Linked DNA regions of Homo sapiens: region 1 is linked to region 2. Evidence: promoter capture Hi-C in 16 types of primary human blood cells and fetal thymus (Javierre and others, 2016). All regions are on one chromosome and are shown on one strand. Each heading gives the region's core, a stretch centred on a gene start or on the middle of the fragment in contact. The rest is flanking DNA. Distances are from core to core; before and after follow the strand shown.

The links. The method cuts DNA at HindIII sites, captures the fragments that hold promoters and counts their contacts. A CHiCAGO score of 5 or more calls a contact.
Region 1: a fragment that was not itself captured here is called in contact with the fragment with the promoter of C18orf63 in region 2 in 1 of 17 cell types (total CD8 T cells); the score reaches 5.1 in total CD8 T cells.

What each region holds. Positions count from the first base shown.
Region 1 is chr18:74,587,555-74,590,747 of GRCh38, reverse strand. No RefSeq gene overlaps it. Among named protein-coding and RNA genes, the nearest start is that of ZNF407-AS1, 8.7 kb to the left of the region's middle. The HindIII fragment of the contact is 1,934 bases long and covers 699-2,632 here.
Region 2 is chr18:74,314,284-74,317,703 of GRCh38, reverse strand. C18orf63 (chromosome 18 open reading frame 63) reads right to left here and starts at 1,865. Exons shown (of 14, transcript NM_001174123.2): 1 at 1,595-1,865. RefSeq lists an enhancer at 1,488-1,657. The HindIII fragment of the contact is 4,843 bases long and covers 502-3,420 here.

The sequences.
Region 1 (3,193 bases), core at 416-2,915, 270 kb before region 2:
ATAGTCAAAGGCATAATTTATCTGACATCTTTTTTCATTCTGCCTAAGGAATTACACTAGAATAATGTTTTTAAATAAAATTTGTCCACATAATGACATTTTTTTCAATTCTATCCAAACTAAAATAGCTCCAAAGCGTTTACTTATCATAACTGTTAAGAAATTATACTTGCCAGGCATGGTAGCTCAAGCCTGTAATTCCAGCACTTTGGGAGGCTGAGATGGGTGACCTCCACTTGAGGTCAGGAGTTCGAAACCAGCCTGGCCAACATGGTAAAACCCCATCTCTACTAAAAATACAAAAAAATTAGCTGGGTGTGGTGGCAGGCGCCTGTAATCCCAGCTACTTGGGAGGCTGAGCCAGGAGAATTGCTTGAACCTGGGAGGCGGAGGCTGAAGTGAACCGAGATCACGCCATTGCACTCCAGCCTGGGCAACAAGAGTGAAATTCCATCTCAAAAAAAAAAAAAGAAAGAAAGAAAGAAAAAGAAAAGAAATTATTACACCTGCCATCACTTCTCTTCTACATCATGCTAGGAATTAAAAAGAATGCATCATTTTGTTGCTTCAGAAAATCTCCTGCATTCTTGTCTTTGTATTTTATCAATTGATTAGGGCTTTGGGGAGCTGAGCAAAGTATAGAACATATCCAACCCAACCTCTGCCTTACAAGAACTTACTTCCTAAAGAAGAAAGCTTTCTCAACATGGTAAAGAGGAAGATAAGTGCTCTGCAATACAGAATGTAGATGTTACATAGTTGGTCAGTGGAAGAGCAGAAGGAATATGTGCTAATGTTAGGACTTGGTTTAAGTTTTTCTTCGTTATGAAAGGCAGTAGTATTACAGATCGTTAACATAGTTATGCTAGGTCTAACCATCGTACATTAAGATAGAAACAAGTGTTTTGTATAATCAAGATCTCAAATCATGATTTAATTTTTTAGCCATTACATGTACAATTAATATTCAAACTTGATCTGAAAAATAACATTAAAAATAACAGATAACACTGAATTCATTTAAAAGTAGACATTTAAAATAGTATAGTACACTTTTTTTTTTTTTAAGAGACAGGATCTCCCCATGTTGCCCAGGCTGGTCTCAAAACTCCTGGGATCCTCCTGCCTCTGCCTCCCGAAGTGCTAGGATTACAGGCAGGATCCACCACGCCTGGCCCTTAAAATAGTATAGTATACTATCTACTAAACTAGATTGTGTTTAAAAGTCACTTGGCCCTATCATGAAACAGTTTGGGGATTTGTTTTTAAGTGAAAACAACTATCCGTAGAAGTGAGAAGTCAGATAAAATAGCATTTGTTTTCTTTTGTGAGCTTTCTCCTTCCTCTGCTTCTTCTAAGAACTTTGTTGAGCATGTCTAAATGGTCAGATGCTGGGCTTCGTGCTCTCCTCAGCTTAGCTTCTCATCACCTGCAGGAATGGCAGAGCAGTGTCATCTCACTCTGTCTTCTGATTGCTCAAGAGGAATCGTGTGTGTGTGTGTGAAAGTGAAATCTTCCAGTTTTGCAATGTCAGCTTCCCATTCAAAAGTGCTTAGGACACCGTGAAAGCCACATCAGCGGGGGTGAGGGAGCCAGTGCAGGGCTCCCGGGCTTCCAGTTTGTGGCCTCTGAATGAAGGTGTGGCCCCTGGTAAGATACAAGCACTGCTGGGAAGCCTAACACATCGAACAGTTATTAGCCATTGACACCTCTGCATGGCTTGTTTTCTGTGCTTCTCCCCAGTACTAGCTGCTCCCAAGAAGGTTTCAAACTAGGAACAAGGTGAAGTGGAGAGTATAAAGATGAGAGAAGTCCAGGAAGGGTATAGCACACCTGGTAGGGAAGACCCCCAAAATCGCTGCTGCAAAGTCAAGAGGAAGATTTTAGCAATCATACTGATTATCTAATGTGTGTAGCAACACCCCACTGGATGCCTGAAGTACAGAGATTAGTAGGATATGGTCGCTAATATTATACAGCGTGAAGTTTAATAGGAGGGAGAGAGATGCACAGAAATCATGAGTGTGCATTGCAGCATGAGAATGGATGATACAAATGTTGAAATCATTCATTTCAGCACTTAAATGTTTCCTAATGACATACAGTATGCCTGGAACCTTCAAGACATCAGGATAGACAAAACAGACAATCTCTGCCTGTAAAGATGTTACAGTCTAGCAGGAGAGCTGGCAGTTTTCAAATTGTAGAAATACAATCATGCATCACTTAACAGGGATACTGAGAAATGCGTGTCTGGACATCTTCAGCCACCCTAGAGTGTACCCACACAAGCCTAGATGGCATAGCCTACTACACGCCTAGGCAGCATGGTGTGGCCTATTGTTCCTAGGCTATAAACCTGTGCAGTGTGTTACTGTACTGAATACTGTAGGCAGTTGCAACACAGTAGTAAGTATCTATGTAGGTAAACATAGAAAAAGGTACAGTAATAATATGGTATTGTAATCTTATGGGACCACTGTCATATATGTTTGTTGTTGGCCAAATTGTCAGTATGTGGTACTTGACTAAGTATTTAATGGCAATGATAATAAATGCGACAAAGGAACTATGGAGACTATGGTAGCATAATAGGGACACCTCACTTACTCATGAGGAATAAGAAAAAGCTTCCCTGAAAAATTACGACTAAGCTGAGATTTGAAGAATAATGTGGAGGGTGGGTGGGAGGGGTATTAGTGACACCAAGGGGGTTGTAAGGGTGTTGCTGGAGGAGGGAGAGACTCTGAGAAGGCTCTGAGGCAGGGAAGCTCTTGGATGTTTGCGAAACTGGGAGGATTTGAAGGATGGGGTTGTCAGGGTGTATCTAGTGAGGGCAGAGCAAGCCAGAAGAGTAAGCAGAGAGCAGGTTGAGCAGGACTTGTAGACCTTCTTGGGATGTCTGACTTCATCCTCAGACCATGTCGCCAGTTGAGAGCTTTAAGCAGGGTGAGAGGGACAAGCCAGTTGCCGCATGGCATGTACAGTGAGAGGGGCTGTCGTGTAAGCAGTGGCTGGTTAGGGGCCTCTGCAATAACCCAGCAAAACTGAAGAGTGTTGGCTTATGAGCTATGCGAGGTGACAGTGGAACTAGAAGGAAGTGGTGGCTTTTGAGAAACGGGCTGGACTGGCCCTGATATTGAATTGCATTGGAAAGAGAGGGAAGTGTGGAAGACGATGCAGGGCTCTGCTA
Region 2 (3,420 bases), core at 616-3,115:
CAGTTAAGTATCCCTGCCATTTACCTTTAAGGTCTTCTAATGATTTTCTAGGATTTTTGGTACAAGTTTTACTAAGATATAGTTCACATAACATAAAATTCACCCATTTAATGTGTACAATTCACTGTTTTTTACTGTATTCAGAGTTGTGCAACCATCATTGCAATAATTTTTAGAATATTTTCATCACTCCTTTTTCTATAACAATAACTATTTTTTAAAAGTCAAAATGTATAGCAAAGTCTTTTGTTGTTTCAGATTTTTCTGTAAAGCACTTCAAGGTTGAGGAATATATTATTTTTCATTGTACACGACAGAAAATGTTTACTGGTCTCTAAATTGTTACCTAGTTTTTGTTTCCACTAAATTATCCAGCTTTCAAATTCTATTGGAGGCACAGTTTACAGTTGATAATTCATAAGGTATACCTTTGAAGTCTACATTACATTTTACTACAGTAACAAAAACTGGAATATAAAAGTAAAGCAACCCAGTGAAGCTTCAGTACACTAACATGCACAAATACATTAGGGAAAAGTAAGCTGGACTCTAGTACTTTCAACTTTTCAACATCAACATGCTTTTTCTTTTTAAGAAAGAATAATATACTGGCCCGGGAATGTGCAGTGTGACCAGCCTTCTGATCACAGTACTGAAATGAGTTTGTGGTGTCATCTGAGGAATGCTGGCAATGCCAGCAGGAATGTAATACAGTAGGAATGTAAATTCCAGGTCACCAAAAAATTCCTGGGTGCAAGTCCTCCCGTTTTGCCAATCTTCAAATACTCACGGATTGCAACACTGTATGTAAACAAGAGTGATCTGTTCAGGGATAAGCATGAATTTATTAGAATTATTACTATTGTTTAATTTTGTGAGTTCCTAGTTGGCAAAACTTGCAGATTCAAAAAGAATGTTGTTTTCTTTGGCTAGGCTGTAGAACTATATTGTGAAGCTCAAAACGTGGGCCAAGCCTTATTATGATCTACGGATGCGCTATTAACATCCTGTCCAGGGAGTCGCTCCACTACGTTTCTGTCCCAGGATTTCATCTTTATTCCCAATCCCCAGCAGGGCAAGGAACAAGTGCTAGGAGCAGGCAACAGGCACCTACGCAATTCTACACGTGAGGGAGGACTCAGAGAACCCCAAAGGACCAAAACTCTGGGAGCGCCCAGCTCCTGCAGTGCTGTGCGCTAAGCCTCGGGACCGCCGCTACGAGGGACCCTTCCTAAAAATCCTCCCGGGGCGCGGGGTTCAGGGCGGCCCCAGACCCGGCTTGCCGCTGCCCCCAGGCGAGCGCCCACCCCTCTTCCGGCCTGGCTTCTGTGAGAACAGTAATGGACGTGAGTGGAAACGAATCTAAGGTCTTTGTTCAGCTAAATCCATTTTAAAAGGTGATTCTATAAATTTCCGATATAATGAAATGCCCGAAAAATTGGGACTCATGGGTCTTTGCAGATGAATACATTTTTTTCCTGACCCAAACCAACGTCCTCAGGGTGCCGGCGCCGGCACCGGGATCCTGCCCTCATGGCGGCCCTGACCTGCTCCTCCGCAACCGTGGGGAAGAGAATCAGGAAAATGGTCTTACAAACTGGAAAAGCAACACTTCTAACGCCCACGGCCTCCTGCACTGCAGATGCGTCAGGCGTCTCCTCAGGGGGAGGAAAGGGCGGGTGGGCGGCAGGGCCTCCAGCAGTCTCCCTCGCTTCCGCTCTGCCTCCTTCAAGCAGCTGCCCCCCAAGGCCAGGCCTCTTGGTCTCTGTGGGGCGTCGATTGAGAGCCCGCGTGCCTCAGCTCCCTCCTCGCTGCCCTCAGGAGACGCTCCCGGCTCGCCCCGCGTGCCCTGCCTTCATCGGAGTGTCCCCTCGTGCCCTCCTCACAGCCCTCGGGAGCCAATCCCAGTATTTCCCGCGCTCTCCCAGCGTTCCCTGCGCTCTCCCAGCATGCCCTGCAAGCCTTGCGCTCCTGGCACGCAATGTAGGTCAACTTTTCCCGCCAAGGCAGGAACCGACCAAAGCTGGTCACGGATGACCCAGTGAAGCCCTGTGAGATTCTCTCAGCCTGAGCTGGTGTGGGTGGGGCCGGGACACAAGGTTCTGGCCGCCCTCGAAGGCGGGAAAGCTGGGTCAGCGCAACACGTCCAACGGGGAGCTCCGGCGCTGAAGCCCCGGCTAACTGCGTGCTGCACAGGGGCTACCCAGCCTCTTGCCTCGGCACGTTTCTCCTCAGATTCTCATGCCCGAATTTACAGCTTCTGCAGTTCCTTTAGTGGTGGGAATCTCCATGACTGGAACATCTTCATGCCTGGTGTGGAGGGGAAGCGTGGTGCAAGCTCGTGGGAGTAAATCCACGAAGCGCCTACTGTGTGCAGATGCGTTTCTAAGGTCTGCTGATAGAGCACTAAGCAAACAGCATTCCCGGTCCTTGTGGGATGCACATTTTACTTGGTAGTTGGGGGAAAACAGATACGCAAGATAAATGTGCAAAATCTTAGTGTGGCAGATGGTGATAGGTGCATTGGAGAAAAATTAAGTAGGGTAGGGAGGCGGGGAGTGCCGAGGAGAAGTCGTTAGGTTTAATAGCGTGGTCAGGAAGGCCTCGTGGAGAACGGGACGTTTGAGAAAGACATGAAGGCGGTGAGAGTGGGCAGCCTCGTGCATGTCTCGGGGGAGAATGTTTGTTACGAGAGAGGGAATCCTACAAAAGGCCAGGGCAGGAGGGACGCCAGCTGGCTGCAGTAGAGCAGGAAAGAAGTGGCTCCGTGAGGCAGGAGGAGTTACAGAGAGCCAGACAGGGTTAGGCCCGATAAGCCATGGAAGTATTAAAGGTGCATCCAGCCTGCTGTGCTGGAATGGACTGAAGGGGACAGGGAAAGGAAGAAAAGCAGTTAGGAGGCAATGGCAATAAGGAGAGAGGTGGCTTGGATCAGAGCAGTGGCAGTGGAGGGAATGGGATGGGATGGGATTGGATTCTGGATATATTTTGAAATTAGATTTAATAGGATTTGGATATGGATTGATGTGGGATCTGAGAGAGAGGGAGAGGAATCAAGCATCACTCCAAGGTTTTTATACTAAGAATTCAGAAGGATTGGGTTGCCATTAATTACAAAGGGGAAGACTAAGAGGAGCAAGTTTGGGGCTGAAGATCAGGAGGGTTCATGTCAGTTTTGGACTTGTTGACATTGAGAAATGAAGAGGAACAATAAGAGTTCTGGGGAAAGATCTGCATATAATAGATGCTATTTAAAACCTGAGGCCAGATTGGATCTCCATGAGAGTGCATTTAGGAAGAAAAGGAACCCTCACACTGGATCCTGGGACACCCCAATATGAGGTCAGGGAGATGACAAGGAACTTCATGGGTGGAATGTCAGGAAATTTTCATTAAGTCAGAGATTTGCTACTTTTCAAT